Linked DNA regions of Homo sapiens: region 2 is linked to region 1. Evidence: promoter capture Hi-C in human tissues and cell types (Jung and others, 2019). All regions are on one chromosome and are shown on one strand. The core of a region is centred on a gene start or on the middle of the fragment in contact, and the rest is flanking DNA. Distances in the headings are between cores, read along the strand shown.

Region 1 (5,818 bases), core at 1,646-4,145:
TTTTCTATGATTATGTATATCACCTGTATTGTTATTTTACTTACAATAAGACGCTCCAAAGCAGTGCTGACACAGGAACATGTAACAAAGCCCTGCGAAGAGTCTAAAATTGATTGTTTTGTAACTGTTACCAAAAAAAAAATCAAAAATATACATAAAGCTATTATTTTGGAAAAGAACAAAAATGCTAGCCATAACAATGAATGAGTTTGCAAACTATGAAATATAAAAGGTTAGAGAGAGGTTCTCAATGAGTAATAGAATTTCTAAGGGAAATTTTTATACCTTGATTACTATAGAGTGTGTGTCTATCTAGATGAAGAAATAAAATAATGAATAAATTTGCATATTTTCTTCTTTCTTTCTGTTACTAGATGAAGCAAACTTTAATTAGATCCCAATTTGCTTGTACTTATAAAGATGACTACATGATAAGCAAGGATAATTGGAATAATGTTAATTTAGCATCAAAGCCTTTGTGTGTTCTTTACATGGAAAATGACCTTTCTGGTAATTGACCTTATTTGTGCAATTAAATAACAATTTAATTCTAGTCTACTAATTAGTTTTAACTTAAGTAAAATTAGGTTATTTTTGCAAAGTACTATGAAATGTAAAGGGTAATATTTTTAAAGACCTCAGTTTATTTAAAAAGTTAAATCTAAGTACAAATTTATCGATAGGAATAGGACACAGTTTGATTTAACTAAATGTATTTAAGAAGTAATTTGTAGCATATGTTTAAGGATTAAATGTCATGCATTCAAACAAATATTTCTTAATAGGGCTGACAAGTTGATTACTGGCCAAAGCTAACTCAGAGGTGCTATGATAAAATGAAAAGTAATAGGATAGTAATGTAGCTATATTTGTCAATCATATTATTTATAGCATTATTTTACTTTAAAAATTTGAATATTCGTTAGCCATTTTTAAAGTTTATTGTAAAGTTCTCGTAAATATTAATACTCAATATCATGTAATTCCTTTCCCCTTTTTATCTTGCATAACAGAGGGTGTAAATCCATCTGTTGGAAGATCAACAATTGGAACGAGTTTTGGAAATGTTCATCTGGACAGAAGTAAAAATGAAAAAGTATCAAGAAAATCAACCAGTCAGACAGGAAATAAAAGCTCAAAAAGGAAACAGGTGGATTTGGATGGTGAAAATATTCTCTGTGATAATAGAAATGAACCACCTCAACATAAAAATGCTAAAATACCTAAGAAATCAAATGATTCACAGAATAGATTGTACGGCAAACTAGCTAAAGTAGCAAAAAGTAATAAATGTACTGCCAAGGACAAGTTGATTTCTGGCCAGGCAAAGTTAACTCAGTTTTTTAGACTATAAATTTGTGTCTTATATGCTTTAGGTTTATGTATCTATAAACCATTCACCAAAGACATGCTTAATTTTTAAGAGATCAAGGTGTAAATTATGATGATTTATTATTTTGGTCTACAGTGTATGTAAGGTTAGTATGTTAAGCATTGTTTAAAAATACTAGTAAGTCATAATTATGCAGAATTTTCACAAAGTTTAATGCACAGAGAAAGCATATCATTTCAGTTACTGATACATCTTAACACTACTTTCTTTTAAAACAGACATTTAACATACACAAGTTATAGTAGCAGTATGGGCTTCTCCTCCCATTGGCAATTAAATGCTTTTATTTTCTTCTGAAAAGATGATGTGGACCAACAGGTATCAGACTTGCCAACAAGGTCGGTAGACTCTTCCCAGCATACATCTGAGCACTGAAGGAAGAAGAAAGTTTAAATTGTTTAAAGGACTATAATTATCACACAAAATTTATTAAGAAAAAAAGAATGGATCTAGTATAACTAATTCTGAGTAAACCAAAATGATAATAATTAATTGTTGCTATTTAATCCCACATTTTTGGCAGGTGTAATTGAGCCATGGTCTTATTTGATTTTGTTATGATTGCATCCAAATTCACTTTAACTCAGAGTTCTGTTTAATGGTGGTAGGATGTAAGAATTGAATTTTGAAAAGACTACTCACTGTCAAAATCTCTCCTTCCTATAGGAAATTTAGCTGAGTTTTCTTCATCCCCAATTTCTCTCTTTTCTTGTGTTGATTCAGTATTCTGAACTCCATTCTCAGCTGGGAAAGCTACAGATCCTTTTAGTGCAAGATAAGGTTTTATAGCCAGATTCAGTGGCAGACCATGATTTAAGAAATTATGTTTGGAGCCTGTGTTCTGTAAAGAGAAGGTTGATTTGGTTTTTAGCTATCGTATTCGGAGTGGAACTATAATACAATTGTATAATATTCTTGTTGATCAATTCAAAGTTACTCTGCACTGTTTTTGACTTTTTAAAAATACCTTAGATGCAAATTTATAGGAGAAAAAACACTTTCAGATAAGAGGTGTTTGCTGGGATGGAAGAACTACCTGGCATGTAAGAAATATCGTCAGTCGTCCTAATGCATATTGTGACTGTTTGCATATACTTCTGTTTATAAAAGTATCAGTTTTACTTTTCAGAGGATTTGTAAGAATCATTTAAATTTTCATTGAAATAAACGACAAGTCACATTGCCACTTACCTTTGAAACTTTATTTTCCTCTTCGTTCATGAAACTGCTCTCATCATTTTTATATTGTTCCAGGGAAGGAGCAATAACTGATTTTTCTGCAGTGTCTTCCTTCTGAAAGCCTTTCCCCAACCTGAATGTATTAAATACCATGTCATCATCTAAATTTCTTATGGACTTGGATGCTGAAAGTAAAATACCTTGAGAAAACAAAGAAAAAGTTAGTATTAATATATAGGAAGAGAGATTCATTTTTGCCATTCTTAGTTTGATGTTTGCATACAGTCAAACAAGAAAGAAAATGAAAAATTTCTCTGTCAGCCTGCTTGGTAAACGATTCTGTATCTTTATATATTTTCTAGCTTGAATAGAAAGCACTTCAAAGAATTATACTTTTCATCATTTTAGAAATGACTCATTAGATTGAGGCTAACCTTTATGCAGCTGCTAATACCTACATTGTTTTGGTTTTAGTGACACATTGTTTATTTTGAGTGTGAATTTTCTCAGAATCTGACTAAGATCCTTGGTAGAATGCTTTCTGTTGAGTAGATTATAGTCTCTTGAAAATGGGTTGTTATTAAGGAAGACCACAGGACATCAGGCTCTCTCTATATTATTGTTTCCTTTTGTGTATTTTCTGATTAAGTAAAGATATTAAAACTCAAGTTATTTCACTCAAGGATGATAAGGATAAAGTTTTATTTCCTTTTAATCCTGATTAAACTGAAATAATCCTCAAAAGAGACTTTCTTTTATAAATACTTGATATAGTTTTTGGTGATTAAAGTACATATGCCTGTCAGTGTGAACAAAAAGCCATTCATGCTATATCAAAAATTGACCTGTCAGGTGTATTTTATCTCTGCATTTACAAAAGGATAATATGTACAAATATTTATTAATGAATTTAGAAATTAATGAATTAGTCCATGAAAAGAATATTTATGTGCCCATAAACATTACTTTTGGATGATGAGTTTATGTTGTATGACTTTTAATTAAACATTTCAGAGTTAATTTCTAATTTTGACCCCAATGAATAAGATAATACATTCTTTTATATGTCTTCTGGTACATATATGTAAGAATTTTTCTAGAGTATATTTCTCAGTATGGAATTACTGGATCATGGAGTATGTATATGTTCAGCTTTACTAATGCCAAAATGTTTTCCAACATAGTTGTAAGCGATTTGTGCCCTCGATAAGCAGGGTATGAGAATTTCCATTGTTCCATGTCCTAGCTGACTCTTGTGTCTCATTGTCCTTTTAATTTGTATTTTCCTAATTACCAAAGAGGTTAAGTGTCTTCCCATATGTTTCTGAGCCATTTATGTTTCCTCTTATGTTAAATGCTTTTTTTTTTTTTCTTTTTTGGCTTTGTCCATTTTTCTATTGGGTTGTCTTTTTCTAATTTATTTATGGGAGTTCTTTATATATTCTGGATATTAATTGTTAGTTATATATGTTTCAATTATTTTCGCTCAGTTTGTGACATATTTTCAACCCCTCTGGTGTCTTTTGGTGAACCAAACTGATTAATTTTAATGTTTAAATATTTTTCTTTTTTCTTTATGGCAACTACTTTTAATGTGTTGTTTTTTTTTAGAAATCCTTCTCAATCCTTAGATTATTAACGTGTTTTCATATATTTTCTTCTAAAAGTTTAAATATTTTGACTTTCATGTTTAGGTTTGTAATTCATCTGTAATTTTGTGTATGATATAAGATAGAGATGTAATTTTACTTTTTCCAATGTCCTTATATATTTCTTGAAGAAGTCATCCTGTCCCCACTAATCTGCAGTGCCATCTCTACAGTATATCAGATTTCTATATATGTGTGGGCTCCTTTCAGAACGTTCTATTCCACAGCCAAATCTACAGTATTAATATAACTTTAAAATAATTTTTAATATCTGGTCAAATTTCCCAGCCCTCTACTTACCCACATGTTTTTCTTTTACAGCAGTTCCTTAGCTATTCTTAGTCATTTCTTTTCCATATAAATCTTAAAATCAGCTTTTCAAGTTCCGTAAGAACACTTGACAGGATATTAAGGTTCTAGTTAGGTATCCCTTATCTGAAATGCTTAGGACCAGAAGTATTTTTGGATTTGGGATATTTTTTTCAGAATTTGGAACATTTGCATTATATCAGTTAAGTATCCCAAAATCTGAAATCTGAAATGCTTCAATGAATATATATTTTTTAGCATATTGTTAATGCTTAACAAGTTTCAGATTTTGGAGCATTTTTGGATTTTGGCTTTTCAGATTTGGGATGCTCAACTTATAATCACATTGGTTTTATAGATTTATAGATTAATTTTGGAGAAGAACTGATATCCTGAAGGTAATTTATTATCTATGAGCATGACATTTTTCTGTATTTGCTTAGATCTTCTTTAATCTTTTTTTCTTCTTTAATCTTTTAATGACATTTTCTTTTCTTCATAAAGGTCTTGCATACCTTTGTTGAGAGAATTATAATTCTTTATAATTTAATTGAATTTCTTATTTTTGGTTATTATAAATTGTATTTTGAAATGATCTTTCTAACATTATTGCTGGTATGTGCATGTGCATTTGGCTTGTGCATAGTAATTTGATAACAGAAAAAAACTTTCTAAACTCTTATTTTTTTTTCTTTTTAATTGTTTATAAATGTATAGATTCTTTGGGATTTTGTATGAAGACAATTGATATAAATGATAAAATAATGGCATTTTATCTCTTTCTCCTAACTTCATCTATATTGTGTATACATGTCTTTGTGTCTGTTCATGTGTTCATACACACTGGCCAAAGCCTCCAGTAAATACTGAAAATGGAGAGAAGAGATATCTTTACAGTGTTACTGATTTTACAGATAATGATTTTAATGCTTCACCACTGAGCGTAATGTTTGCTGTAGGTTTCTTATAGATACTTGCTATAAAGTACAGGATGTTCTCTTTTGTTTCTGGCTTACTAATAGTTTTTATCATGAATTGTTGTTGAATATTATTGAATGCTTTTTTTGCATATATTGAGATGACCAGATCATTTTCTCCTTCAGTCTTTGGAAATATTAACAGATTTTTCTAATGTTAAACTAACCATGTGTTCATGAAGAAACCTTTAAATTATCGGATTCAATTTGGCAATATTTGATTTAGTACATTTTACATTTATTATGAGTAAGATTGATTTGTAATTTTCCTTTTTTATATTGACTTTGGTTTGATATTAAGTTTGTACCAA
Region 2 (5,818 bases), core at 2,134-4,633, 37 kb before region 1:
GTCCCCAAAATGGTTTTATATCTCCTTAGACTCTTTTACTCCAGAAGAATTCCCCTAATCTTTTTTTTTTTTAATTTTCTGATTAATTCCTTGTGGTATTATTTAACTTGTTTCTCTATTTGCTGTATTTCCAATAAACTGGAAGTGATATCTGAAATCTTGCTTAGATTTTGGTTTAATATTTCCTAAGAAATACTTCTTAACTGATGCAGAGTATTTCATTTTATATCTTATTGGGAAACAAACTCAGGTTATCCTGAATTGCCAGGTCTCTCCAGTACAAAGATGTAGTTTTTCCTTTGCTGTCAGCAAAGATCTGTGAGGTGACACTTTGGCACTGTATAAATAATCCTGTTTCTCAATAACCTTTTATCTAATGGTTTTAAGCATTGATGATCCTGACTTGAATCAGTTATTTCTGTAGTATCTATAGAATAGTGAGCTTCTGGCCAGGCACGGTGGCTCACGCCTGTAATCCCAGCACTTTGGGAGGCTGAGGCGAGTGGATCACAAGGTCAGGAGATCGAGACCATCCTGGCTAACACGGTGAACCCTCGTCTCTACTAAAAATACAAAAAAGTAGCCAGGTGTAATGGTGGGCGCCTGTAGTCCCAGCTACTCTGGAGGCTGAGGCAGGAGAATGGCGTGAACCTGGGAGGCGGGAGCTTGCAGTGAGCCGAGATGGTGCCACTGCACTCCAGCCTGGGAGGGAGTGCGAGACTCCATCTCAAAAAAAAAAAAAAAAAAAAAAAGAATAGTGAGCTTCTAATTCTGTTATGTCTTTACATTAATTACTTGCCATTTCTCAATAAAGCTTTATCTTATCAAATGAGATGAAGTACCCTTCTCTAAAAATCTCAGGGTAACTCCTCAATTCTCTACCAATTTAGGGGTTAGTGTAATAGTTATATATAATATAAGCAAATTAGATATTTATTCTTTTATTGCTCTCCTTTTTGTGTGTCTATTGTTTGGATTCATGAATTTATATTTATTCACTGTTTTAAAATGAGTTACACTCATTAATCTTTGATGCTAAAATAGAGGAAGCTGCTTCAAGCAGGTTTTTGTGTCTTTTTTACATGCTCTAGTAGACTTTTCAAGCATTTTCCTCTTTTCTGGTACAAGAAAATATCCCAAGCCCACCTTGAATGTTTCCTGCCCAGACCTGGTTCCTTTTAGAGATTTGTAACTATTTTCTCTTGCTTGAAATTAATTTTTCACTTACATTTCCTTTCTTTTCCCTTGATGCTCCAAATCTTGACAAAGTGATTGCCAAATTGCCTGATCTTTTCTCGGTGGCGCTTAAGCAGTGTATTTGTGTATCAAAAGGGTAGATTACTTAAAGATCTCTTTTATCTATCCTGTATGTACTACAGGGAGGAAATTATAATTGTTATATTTGTATTTTTAAAGAGGAATGAACCAATTTGTATATGTGAAAAGAATTAAGCTTTTAGAACTTCGGCTTATAAAGTTTAAAGGAGTATCTGTGACTAAAGATTATAAGCATGTAGTTTCCTGATTTAAACAACACTGATAGTTTCATTGTGTTAATTCTCTAATTTCTAACTTTTGCTTTCTTGGATTATATTTTCTAATAGAATTTTACCTACTAGTTCAACTAATGGATTTGATTTTCTGAGGAGTATTAAATTGGCAGCCATCTTCCTAACCATGCTTCTGTTACTTGCAGTTTCTAATTTTTCTTTTTACAAGGTCTTTTTGGAAGTCAGTGTATTTCTTTTTTCCCCTCTGAGACGGAGTTTCACTCTGTCACCCAGGCTGGAGTGCAGTGGTGTGATCTCAGCTCACTGCAACCTCCGCCTCCTGGGTTCAAGCAATTCTCCTGCCTTAGCCTCCTGAGCAGCTGGGATTACAGGCCGTGCCACCACGCCTGGCTAATTTTGTATTTTTAGTAGAGACAGGGTTTCACCATGTTGGCCAGGCTGGTCTTGAACTCCTGATCTCGTGATCCACCCACCTCGGCCTCCCAAAGTGCTGGAATTACAGGCGTGAGCCACCGCACCCAGCTGGAAGTCAATGTAGCTCTAATTAAAATCCTAATGTGAATTTTTGGGCTTCAGTCTTGCAGAGAAATATTTTGACCATCAAATGTGTTTACTAATATGACACCAGTCTTCAAGTAGGTGAATGGATTGAATTTGAGAAACAATATTTTTGTTTCCTTATTTTATTTTACTTCATTTTATTTTTCCTAAGGTACTAAACCATTGCTTTTAAAATTCTGAAGTAATGAAGGGAATAATAGAATAAAGGCCAGAAAAAGAAAATCATCAGTTAAAAAAAAAAATCTACTAAGTATCTTAGTTTTTGTCCAACTTTTTTTTTGTCAGTATATATAAGCATTTATGCATTGGCAAACAAAAGTTAAAAAAAGACCCTGTATAAATTGTTAATCTTCTCAGCTTAGAAAAACTGACTTTCTTCAAACTGAGGTTGAATATCTGCCTCTCAGTAAGAAGAGATAGGAAAAGAAACTTGGAATTATCAGAAAGCTTAAATAAAATTGTCCAGCTTCTAAACAAACATTGCAAATACTTTGTGGTATGGATATAATCAGTTTATTAAACAAATAAACAGAACAGTATCCTTATTTTTGGTGTTTTGGTAAAGGCTTCAATCTTGTGGATGTTTTCAATTTAGGCCCTTGCTCTTGGACATCATAACTATACTTATGTGGACTGCTTTTCCAGGGAACCTCTTTAAAACTCACTTGTAAATACAAGAGCAAGGAAACCATAACAGCCATGTTATCTGACCATAATAAGAGGGATAGATTTCCAATTGCAGCCATGAGCTAAAAGAAACACTCTAACTGTGAGGACTCCAAGATGTTTTTCCCTGAAGTTTGCCCAACATCACAGATCAGAAGGACAAAATTTGCTAACCTTAAAGAGCAAGTTGTAGATGTGAGAGCTTAAGCCCTGGTTTTGTACCCAATTAGGATCAGGTATATACATATTTGTTAAGTTCTTGTTATTTTTGAACAGCAGAAGCACAGTGACATAGAGATTGCATTAAGTTAAATGTAGGAAAAGTTTCTGATTACAATGTGAATGTCACTTTTTCTCTGCTTTGATTTTCGGTAAATTGTGTTATTCTTCTCAGATGTCAAAGGAATACAAAGAATTGTGTCTTAGACTATTGCACTGTGAAGTTAAAATGGAAACTCATATTATAGACTTGTGTAATAGAAGTATTGTGATTTACTGTGAAAGTAAAGATAAAAGGACATTTGAAATATGAGCAGAGGCTGGGCATGGTGGTTAACGCCTGTAATCCCAGCACTTTGGGAGGCTGAGGCAGGCAGATCACCTGAGGTTAGGAGTTTGACACCAGCCTGACCAACATGGAGAAATCCCGTCTCTACTAAAAATACAAAATTAGCCAGGCGTGGCGGCACATGCCTGTAATCTCAGCTACTTGGGAGGCTGAGGCAGGAGAATCACTTGAACTTGGGAGGCTGAGGTTGTGGTGAGCCGAGATCGTGTCATTGCACTCCAGCCTGGGCAACAAGAGGGAAACATCATCTCAAAAAAAAAAAATATATATATAATCAGAAAACTATATTATACATTATTTTATAAAATTTTAGGAGAAGCCTTAAAGCTTATTTTTATTTGGTTGTGACTTAGAATACCTTTCTTTGTAAGGCACCATAATAAAAAATATGGCATTTATTTTATCCCAGGTAAGTTTTTTTTTCTTTGGAGACAGTCTCATTCTGTCGCTCAGGCTGGAGTGCAGTAGCATTATCTTGGCTCACTGCAATCTACACCTCCCAGGTTCAAGTGATTCTTGTGCCACAGCCTCCCGAGTAGCTGGGATTACAGGTGTGTGCCACCACGTCCAGCTAATTTTTTTGTATTTTTAGTAGAGACAGGGTTTCGCTGTGTTGGCCAGGCTGGTCTTGAACTCTTGGTCTCAAGTGACCCACCTGCCTTGGCCTCCTAGTGGTGGGATTACAGGTGTGAGCCACCACACCCAGCCTCAGGTAAGTTTTTCTTAATAGATTTTTAATTTTGAAATTTTTAAAGAGTCAAATTTATGTATTAATTTTTCTTTCATTCATCATTGAATGAAAACTCATTGAGAACCTATTGACAAAAACAGATTGATTACCTACTATAATGCGAGTCATTCTGTTAGGATCTAAGGACAGATGATTTGCTCTCATGGAACTCACAAAGTAATAGGAGGATTAAGAAACGTTATCAGAAAGTGGCTAGGCATGGTGGCTCATGCCTGTAATCCCAGCACTTTGGGAGGTCAAGGCAGGAGGATCACTTGAGCCCAGGAGTTCAAGATTAGGCTGGGCAACATAGTGAAATATTGTATCCTTAAAAAAATATTAAAAAGAAAAGTATGCAGAGAATTATAATAGGGTGATATGCAGAGTTATCACAGGATGGCAGGAAAGAGAATACATGAATGTCTACTTTAGACTGGGGAATCAGGGAGCATCTCTGAAAAGGTAACATTTACTTAATATGCAAGAAAAAATCTTTCTCATGGTTAATCTTTAAACTTTGTTTTCTTGTAATTAATTTTGCTTAAATTCTATCTCGAGTCCATATTTAAGGCAATGCTTTCCTGTCCAGTGAAGTTTTTCTTTTAAATTGACCCTGCCTGCCTCCTACTTTTTAATAATTGTTTTTTGCATGGGAACTTAAACAGTCAAAATATATTATCTTTTGAATTTATTTTAAGGTGTATATGCTTAACAACTATCTAAGAGGCTTGCTAAGGATTTGTAATTTTTTATTGCTGCCTTTTTTAGTTTCTTTTATGCTTCAAAAATTTAACATGTGATTAGATTGAATATGATGAAATTTTAGTTTTAATAAGGGAAATATTTTCTTAGCATTTACAGATGATAAATTCCGGGGATATTAGTTGTGACTGAAATTACTGAAGGATTTTTGAATTTCATGTGTTTTGAGTGGGAATCGAGTTTAGAATTCGTGAGTCTGTTATCTGAGGGAATAGGCAAGAATATGATTTCAAGTGGACAGTTTGGGAACAATAAGAATTAGAAACAGGATTCTAGAGCAGAAGGTGGGATCGAAGTAGTTGAGAAGGCAAAAATAGGAAGAAAATTCCATGCAAGGAATTTAATTTTGCGCTGCTCATGGTGGCTCACACCTGTATTCCCAGCACTTTTGGAGGTCAAGGCAGAAGGATCACTGGAGCCCAGGAGTTCAACACCAACCTGGGCAACATAGTGGGACCTTTTCTCTACAAAAAATAAAAACGTTTTGCTGCTTGTGGTGGCACATGCCTGTAATCCTAGCTACCGGGGAAGCTGAGGCAGAAGGATCACTTAAGCCTGGGAGGTTGAGGTTACAGTGTGCCCTGATTGTGCCACTGCACTCCAGCCTAACAGCAAGACCCTGTTTCTCAAAAAAAGAAAAAAAAAAAAGGAATTTGATTTTGATGAAATGAAATTTATCTTTTTATTTTTCCTTTTCTCATTGTGCTTCTGGTGTCTTATGTAAGAACTCTTTGCCTTATTCCAGGTCATGAAGATTTTCTATTATGTTTTCTTTTAAAAGTTTAATAGTTTATGTTGTACATTTATAGACTTATGATCCACTTTGAGTTTACTTTTATAAAAGGTGTGAAGTTTAAGTTGAAGTTCATGTGTTTTGCATATGGATGACCAATTGCTCCAACACCAATTATTGAAAAGACTGTCTTTTCTTCATTGTTCCTTTTGCACATTTGTGAAAAATCAGATTGCTATATTTGTGTTGGTCTATTTCTGCACGCTATTCTGTTCCATTGAGCTGAG

The links. The method cuts DNA at HindIII sites, captures the fragments that hold promoters and counts their contacts. A contact is called where the count stands out against the background at its distance.
Region 2: a fragment that was not itself captured here is called in contact with the fragment with the promoter of PMCH in region 1 in 1 of the 25 tissues and cell types used here (hippocampus).

What each region holds. Positions count from the first base shown.
Region 1 is chr12:102,194,938-102,200,755 of GRCh38, forward strand. It overlaps PMCH (pro-melanin concentrating hormone), which reads right to left and starts at 2,896. Exons shown (of 3, transcript NM_002674.4): 1 at 2,585-2,896; 2 at 2,036-2,234; 3 at 1,522-1,764. The coding sequence starts at 2,833. The coding sequence ends at 1,715. PARPBP (PARP1 binding protein) reads left to right here. Exons shown (of 11, transcript NM_017915.5): 10 at 375-510; 11 at 1,014-2,583. The coding sequence ends at 1,354. The HindIII fragment of the contact is 16,025 bases long and covers 1-5,818 here.
Region 2 is chr12:102,157,392-102,163,209 of GRCh38, forward strand. The region is part of intron 4 of PARPBP (PARP1 binding protein); the gene reads left to right. Among named protein-coding and RNA genes, the nearest start is that of PMCH, 38 kb to the right of the region's middle. The HindIII fragment of the contact is 4,500 bases long and covers 1,134-5,633 here.